Regions from separate parts of the Homo sapiens genome. Here region 2 is linked to region 1. Evidence: promoter capture Hi-C in human tissues and cell types (Jung and others, 2019). All regions are on one chromosome and are shown on one strand. Each heading gives the region's core, a stretch centred on a gene start or on the middle of the fragment in contact. The rest is flanking DNA. Distances are from core to core; before and after follow the strand shown.

Region 1 (4,301 bases), core at 533-3,032:
TAAAATATCACATGCATATTATTTGGTTTATATTTAACTCAATAACAGGAAGAAAAAGTTTGATATTGGATAATAAGGCCGGACACGGTGGCTCACGCCTGTAATCCCAGCACTTTGTGAGGCCGAGACAGGTGGATCACGAGGTCAGGAGTTCAAGACCAGCCTGGCCAACATGGTGAAACCCCGTCTCTACTAAAAATACAAAAATTACAGTGCGCCTGTAATCCCAGCTACTCAGGAGGCTGAGGCAGGAGAATCGCTTGAACCTGGGGGACGGAGGTTGCAGTAAGCCGACTCTAGCCTGGGTGACAGAGCGAGACTCTGTCTCAAAAAAAAAAAAAAAGAAATTGGATGATAAGATGATGTTTACCCTTGGAGGGTGGTAATAACTACCAGGGGCTGTATGGAAGATTCTGGGGTACTGGTTACATAGATGTCTTCATTTGTGATTCTGGCACATTTTTGTATATATAATTTCCTTCAATAGAAGTTTACTAGAGCAAAAAAGGGAAGCCTGACCATGCCACTCCCTCCCCTTTTTTTGAATTCCTTTATTGTTTTCCTTTGCTCCCTTTCCCTTCCCAGTCTGAGCAGAACCTGTGGCTACCAAGTTCCTGGATGGCCTGGCCTCTGGCCACCTCTGTACCATTGCCTCTTTGCCTCTGGTACTCTAGTCACCCTTGCCTTCTGTTGTTAGTGCCATGCCTCCCGCTTGTCACAGGGCCTTTGCACAGGCATATTTCTCTGGTCCAAAGCCCTTATCTTAATCCATTTGGGCCTATGACAAAATACCACAAAGTGGGTAGCTTATAAACAACAAACATTCATTTATCACATTTTTGAAGCCTAGGAAATCCAAAATTAAGGCTCTGACAGATTCCGTTGTCTGCTGAACCCATTTCCTGGTGACACCTTCTCACTACATCTTCACATGGTGGAGCTCTCTCTAGTCTCTTCTGCAAGGGCACCAATTCCAATCATGAGAGAACTGCTCTCATGACCTAATTACCTCCCAAGACCCCACCTTTTAATGCCATCACCTTGGGGGTTAGGATTTCAGCACATGAATTTTGGAGGGACAGAAATGTCCAGACCATAACAGCCCTGTTGAAGTCTATTTATCCTTTAGCTCAGAGCTCAAAGGTGGCCTACCCACCACCCCATCCAAGTCTAGTACCATTGATATGGCCTTTCATAGAACTACATTCCTTTCTTTGAAAGCACTCATCTTCACTTGTCATTATGAATTCATACGGTAATTATCTGCCCTGTCTTTTCCACTAGCCCATATGTCTTAGGAGGTTTGCCTATGTTTTTTTCCTGCATTGTATCCCCAGCACCATTCCCAATACTTAGTAGGTGCCTGATAACCACATGTTGGATGAATAAATGAATATAGACGAATTGGGCTTATAAAAAGCTTTCTTCTAATTAGAGTACACTACAGAAAGATAGGATGCCAAACTAAAGAATTCAGATTTCTTTTAGATAGGCAACAAGGAGCCATTGAAGGTTTTTGAGAAAGGAAGATGCGTGGACAGACCTTTATTTTATTAAGATCTCTGTGGAGGTAGAGGTGGAGAGGCTGCAAGGAGGCTGTGGCAGAGTCCAGAGGAGACATAGCGCCTGAAGAGGGGTAGTGGCCACATGGAGAACAGTGGGAGGTGGCCAATGTCCCACCTCCACTCTGACCTCAGGGCCAGCTACCAAGACGGGCAATGACTTCACAATCACTGCCCAGGCCTTCCACCTTTTAAGGCCAATATCCCAGGGTCTTGGCTCACTCTGCCCTTTATGTTCACATCTGGAGGCCACACCCTACCTTCTAAGTCACCAGGCCATCAAGTCCAGACAAAGGGATCGAAAGAGTGAGACAGTGCCAGCCACCTCCCACCCAAGCCACTAGCAAGACTCCACAATGTCAGAGCAACAAATGGACCTGAAGGATTTAATGCCCACAAAGAGGAAATACATGTGGAAGACTGCTGAAGATAGGCGCATGTCTGACCTCACCTGTGTGCTGGAGTGGCTGGAGCGGAGGCAGGGGAAGAAGAAACAAGCTCCCGAGGTGGGTACCATCCAAGAGAAATGGCAGGAAGACTTTACTCAAGGTAGTTGCAGTAGGGGAGAGAGATTGAACTTAACTCTCCTGAAACAAAAGGCGGGATGGTTTTGAAGTGCTGGGATAAGCTAGTGAGAACTACCCAAGGACATTAAGGGGGTGGGGGAATTAGTTAATATGATTAGGCTGTCTGTGTTGCTAATTCGCACTTATAAATGTTAGGCTCCCATCCTCTCACAGAGACTGAGAGACAAGGTACAATCTTTCTTGATGATTACATTTCAAAGGGTCCTCCCAGGTCCTTGAGAAAAACATTCCTGGATTGTAAAACTAGCAAGAGACTGAGAGATTTACATCTCAAAGGGGCAGAGAAAAAATTTACAAATCCAAGTTTTCTAGAGGAAATGCTCTAAGGAAAAGGAGGCCAAGGGCCTATCATCAGGAAGAAACCTGTCTAAAGTTTAGTCAAGCTGGGCAAATGTTAGTATTGGTCAGAATTCTAGAAGGGCCAAGGGGCAGTGGCTTCTGGGTCTCCATATTGCAGGATGGGATCCTCCTACTGCCCTCAGCTCTTCTCTCCTTGTGATGCCTTCAGAATCAAAGAACATTCATTCCTCACTGCCATTACTGCAACTGCAACTCCAGCTAACATACCTCCTCTTTTCTACCCTACATCGAGCTAGTTCTAACCCACCCTTTCCTCTTTCTCCAAGAAATGTAGCAACCAAGTTTGCCTTAGTTTTTCCCAGAGCTCCCCCAAGACCTATCATCTATGAAGAACCAAGCCATGTCTTTGGAAAGTGGTGTCCTCTGCAGAAGATGCCACCTGGTCTTGAATCTCCTGACCCTAGAGCAAAATGAGTAAAAAATGCCATTACTAATAACAATGCTCAACACATCACTAACTTTTAATGTTTACTGTGGTCAAGGCCCTGTGCTTAGATTTGTACCTGGGTTATGTGGTCAATTGCTCCCAGTCAGGCTACCAGGGAGGCACCATTTTTACCCCTAGTTGAAGGATAAGGAAAGTGAAAATAAGTCATTTTATTGAAGTCACAGAAGTAATAAAGGGCAGAGCCAGGGCTCAAACTGAGGTTTTCCAATTCCCAAATGCATAGACTCCTCTGCTTTATCCAGGTCAGCACCTGCCTTTGGGGAAAGCTTCCATTATGTTTGTGTGCTTACTTACTGTATTAGTCCATTCTCATACTGCTACAAAGAAATACCTGAGACTGGGTCATTTATTTAAAAAAAAAATAAAAAAAAATGTTTAATTGGCTCATGGCTGTACAAGAAGCATAGGAGATTCCACTTCTGGGGAGGTCTCAGGAAGCTTACAATCATGGCAGAAGGCAAAAGAGGAGCAGGCACTTCACATGGCAAGAGCAAGAAGTGGGAGGACGAGGTGCCACACACACTTTTAAATGACTGGATCTCACGAGAACTCTCGCCTTCATGACAGTACCAAGGGGAATCGTGTTAAACCATGAGAAAGTGCCCCTATGATCTAATCACCTCCCACCAGGCCCCACCTCCAACACTGGAGATTACAACTTGACATGAGATTTGGGGAGAGACGCAGATCCAAACCATACCACTTACCATTTATAGTCAGAAAGATCTCGAGTGCCAATTCCATCAGACACATCTGACAAACATATTTTACTCTAAGGTGCTAATGATTTACAGATAGCCTACCCACTGCCTTGATTTGGGGGCGAAGGGGAAGCTTGACTTCTGGGTCTCTCCAAACTCAATTTAATATCATCACAGGAATTACATTCACTTCCCTGGTTAATATGTTCAGGTCTATCTCCTTTTACCAGGATAAGATTCTAATAATCACATTTTAACAACTTTACCTTAAATGTGGCTTTTATTGTAAATAACTTTGGACCTAGAGAGGGAGCAAGTTTACATGGGAAATATAATTAAGTCTTCAAGCATCATTACCTTTCCCAGAAGCATCTGGGCTTTTAAAGAAGCTTCTAAGAGGAAGATGATGTGTGCTGGCAGGTCTCCGACAGCAGCAGGTGATGGGGGACCCTCTGGTGAGATGGTTGGGGTCTATCTTCACCACTCAGGGCCCTCTGTGACCTCCTCTGTTCTCTCCTGGGGTCTGACCTGGCCATCCAGGCTCTTCCCCCAACAGACTGCTCATGGTATTTCCCCCTTGTGATCCATTTGGCATCAGCGAAGACCCCTGAGGTCTGAAGTCTCAGCCATGGAGGATGCTGAA
Region 2 (4,182 bases), core at 108-2,607, 650 kb before region 1:
TTAGTTCAACCATTGTGGAAGACAGTGTGGTGATCCCTAGAACTAGAATTACCATTTGACCCAGCAATCCCATTACTGGGTATATACCCAAAGGATTATAAATCATGCTACTATAAAGACACATGCACACGTATGTTTATTGTGGCACTATTCACAATAGCAAAGACTTGGAACCAACCCAAATGTCCATAAATAATAGACTGGATTAAGAAAATGTGGCACATATACACCATGGAATACTATGAAGTCATAAAAAGGATGAGTTCACGTCCTTTGTAGGGACATGGATGAATTAGGAGAAATACCTAATGTAAATGATGAGTTGACGAGGGCAGCTAACCAACATGGCACAAGTATACCTATGCATCAAACCTGCACGTTGTGCACATGTACCCTAGAACTTAAAGTATAATAAAAAAAATTGTAGTGTGTTCTTTTCTTTGATCCTTGGATGAAACAATAAAGCCTAAGACCATGGCACATCACTCCATTTAGCTTTAGTCATTCCCCATTGATGGATGTTTAGGTTGTTTCTAGTCTTTCTGCAACATAACACAGTCTTGAAATCAGCTAAGGAATAGAGATTTGTTGGTTTCTTTTGCAGGAGAGACAATGAAAGGAATGTGTATCATACCCTTGCTTTTTTCCTCTCTACAACATTCATTCCTTATACTTTTAAAAACAGAATCTTGTTTTTCCTTTGGAGAACTACCCTTCACTCACTTTCTGGCTGACCCTACTTCTGGTTTCAAGGATGAGATGTGACTAAAGCCCAACCAATCAGAAGCACTATTTTTACATTTATCAAAATAAATAGATAAGTCTTCCATCTTCTCTCTGTTTAGCTGACATGGACATGCCTTTCACCTGTCCAGTGATTGGTTCATGGAAGATCATGTGACCAAGCTTAGGGAAAGATAGTCAGACCTGAGACTTCTGCAGAAACTGCTGGGACCAGGGCTCCATCTTCCCAATGAAAATGTGGAGCTAGTGGGCGGGCTGGAAGGGAAGAGGTACTAGAAACAGGAAGACCAGGTATGAAAGGAATGTACTGCAATGGTGGCTGCAGTGTGGCTATACTGCAATGGTGGCTGTACTGCAATGGTGGCTGCAGAACTGTGGAAGAGGAGTTAACAAGAAGTTTATTTTACAGAAAATTCAGAGCAGTTGGCTAAACTGCAGAGAGGGCCAGAAGAAGTAGGAGGAAGAGATTCAGCATGACTCTGAAGGTTTTGGGTTTGGAGAACTGAAGAATGAAGCTACTTGAATGAATGTGGGTATTGAGAGATGAAGCTTGCTGGGTGGGTAAACTGGCTGTTTGCCTGTCCTTTTCCCATCTGATCTTTGTCACAGGGAGCTACATTTCCCAGCGTCCTTTGACATTTAGTTCAGGAAAGCATTTTTGGAAGACTGAAGAGTGAGGGAGAGGAGAAGCTGGAGAATATTCCTCCTCCTCTCTCTGTTTCTAGTAGAATGGCTTGAGGTGTCTACCTCTCATCTCTGATTCCATTTGTAGCCAGACAGCCTCTCTTTACTTGGTTTTATTTCCAACAGGCAGCTCCTGCCATGATTTTAGGGTCTGCTGGACAGCTGCAGCTTTCAGGCTCTGGTAATTCCAACCTTTTTTGCTGTCCCTCCATCCTTAGGGTTGGTGTCATATTCCTTCTGTGGTTGATCTCTGGGTTGCCTCAATGTCTTCTGCTTGACTTCTTGGACCTTCCATCACTGGAGTAGTCAATTGCTTGTATTAAGTTCTCTCCATTTGGAACACCTAGTAGGGTTTCTGTTTTTGCTGGATGAATCCTAATTGATAGATTGAAGAAGCGGAAGGAGGGAGAAGACATGGGCGGAATGTGGGTTGGTGCACAGACAAGAAGGAAAGGTATGAAAAAACACAGGTCTGGGACTTACTTGCAAGATGGGAGGTGCTCAAGGAGAATGAGTTTAGAAGGGGAGGAAGGCAAGGACGGGACCTAGGGATAGTTCCACATAACTCATGAATGATGCTGAGGCATTAGCCAAGGTGGCTTAGAAGTGATAGCTTTCAGAGATGTAAGAGAACCAAATGTAGTCTTACTGTAACTAGGGAAGAATTTTAAGGAAGTTCGTGAGAGAGGAGGGTAAGAGTCACGGTCAGAAAGATCACTTGATTGATATGTGGGGGTCAAAAAGAATGAGGGCATTAAACAGACAGTCTGGTTCTAGTCTAAGTTAACTTGACCATAGTGCTATACCATTTAAAGCAAGAAGTTAGGAAGGGAAAAATGTAGAGAAATGGGAAATTCAAGGTTGATATTGGGGAGATGACTAATACTTTTGTTATGGGGTAGCTACATTATGAAAACTTTTTGCTATAAACTATGTGGAAGAGTGTGACTTGGCTCATGGTGCTGCCAAATTCACTTAGTCATGAACTCTGGCTTTGAAAAAATATGAAGAAGTCTTTATGACCTCTGGTTCATTGTCTGCTATAGAAGCTTAACTGTAGAGATTGACACCTGTCTTAGTCTGTTCAGGCTTCTGTAACAAAATACCTTAGACTTGGTGTTTTATAAAGAATGAACGTTTGTTTGTCACAGTTCTGGAGGCTGGAAAGTTCAAGATTAAGATGCAGTGGATTCAGAGTCTGGTAAGGGGTCACTCTCTGCTTCCAAGATGGTGCCTTGTTGCTGTGCCTTTGCATAGTGGCAGATGAATACTGTGTCCTCACATGCAAGGAGGGCTAAAAGGGGCATACTTGGTCCCTCAAGACATTTAATAAAGGCAATAATCTGGTGGGACCTTCATGACCTAATTACCTCCTAAAGGCCCCACTTCTTAATACTATTGCATTGAGGATTAAGTTTCAACAAGAATTTTGGAGAAACGCAAACACTCAAACAATAGCAATACAAAAAGAAAGCTACCATAAGTCATAGGCCCATGGACTCTTGGAGATGGAAAGGGTCATTTTACAAAGGGTCAAATGGAGGCCCAGAGAGACTCAGGCATTTGAGACCACGTGGGCTGCACTGAAGAAAAGTCATTTTTAACATAATCCAAAGTCATGGAACCAGAAGAGCTGTCTCTCTCTCTTTTGCACATAATCTTGACTTCTTCAGAACTGGGATTCATCTTTCCAATGCAGGACAGTGGGAAGCCCAGTACAAGACTCAATAAATGTTGGGTGATTTAATACACAAATGGTGAGGAAGAGGTGATGAGTCTGACAGCCTGTGGACTTCAGAGTTGGAGGATTCCATGGAAAGACATCTCAGGGAAAAAAGTGACACCATTTCCTGAATTGAAATCTTCCATAGCATTAAACAAGCCTGGGCAGCATAGATAGACCCTGTCTCTAATATATATATATATATATGTATATATATATATAATTTTTTTTAAATAGCTAGGCATGGTTGTGCATGCCTGTAGTCCCAGCTACTTGGGAGGCTGAAGTGGGAGGATCACTTGAGCCTTGGAGGTTGAGGCTGCAGTGAGCTGAGATAGCACCACTGCATTCCAGCCTTGGTGACCAAGCGAGACCCTGTCTCAAAAATAAATAAATAAGCTTTTCTGGGGTAGCCACAGCATGCATAGTGGGAGAAAATGGTGTTGATGGATAGTGAGGCTAGATGATGAATCAGTTGGAAAGATTTTGAGCTCAAGAAACAGAAAACTCAACTTTCTTTGGTTGAAGCAATAAGGATGTTTATTGACTCACAGAACCAGAAATTTAGGTGCAAGGTAAGCTTTATAGTTGACCAAATTTTGTAGCTCTGTGTGCATTTCTCAGTAGTTCTCTTGGCTCTGTTTCCTGTGTGGAGCGGTTTCACACTCAGATGAGTATGGAGAGGCAGTAGTTCTCCTCACATCTCACATCTACTCATAATGACATCAAAGGACAAGAGAGAGGACTTTTGGAAGCTCTCCCAGAAGATAGAGGATGAACTCTTTCAGCTCTTGTCCTTGCTTTCTCTTAGTCTGTTTCCTAAACAGCACCCTAAGGGATCCTGTTGAAACATAAGCCAAATCATGACACTGTTCTGCTCAAAACCCTCTGGCAGCCTCTGTATAAAAGCTGGAGTCCTTTCCAGACCTACAGTGCCCAGCAGGATCGGCCTCAGTGTCACTTCTTTGACTTCCTCTTCTGCTCTTGTCCCTCTTGTCCACTCTACTCCAGCACACTGACCTCCCTGCTGC

Evidence for each region. Contacts are between HindIII fragments. The study calls those that stand out against the background at their distance.
Region 2: a contact is called between a fragment that was not itself captured here and the fragment with the promoter of C16orf78 in region 1, in 1 of the 25 tissues and cell types used here (dorsolateral prefrontal cortex).

The regions. Positions count from the first base shown.
Region 1 is chr16:49,372,022-49,376,322 of GRCh38, forward strand. C16orf78 (chromosome 16 open reading frame 78) reads left to right here and starts at 1,783. Exons shown (of 5, transcript NM_144602.4): 1 at 1,783-2,068. The coding sequence starts at 1,919. It overlaps LOC105371244 (a long non-coding RNA gene), which reads right to left. Exons shown (of 8, transcript XR_001752167.2): 8 at 303-2,909. RefSeq lists enhancers at 1,236-1,966, 1,967-2,697. The HindIII fragment of the contact is 5,141 bases long and covers 1-3,593 here.
Region 2 is chr16:48,724,867-48,729,048 of GRCh38, forward strand. All of the region lies in intron 1 of LOC105371240 (a long non-coding RNA gene), which reads left to right. It also overlaps the pseudogene KLF8P1. Among named protein-coding and RNA genes, the nearest start is that of N4BP1, 120 kb to the left of the region's middle. The HindIII fragment of the contact is 3,311 bases long and covers 1-3,013 here.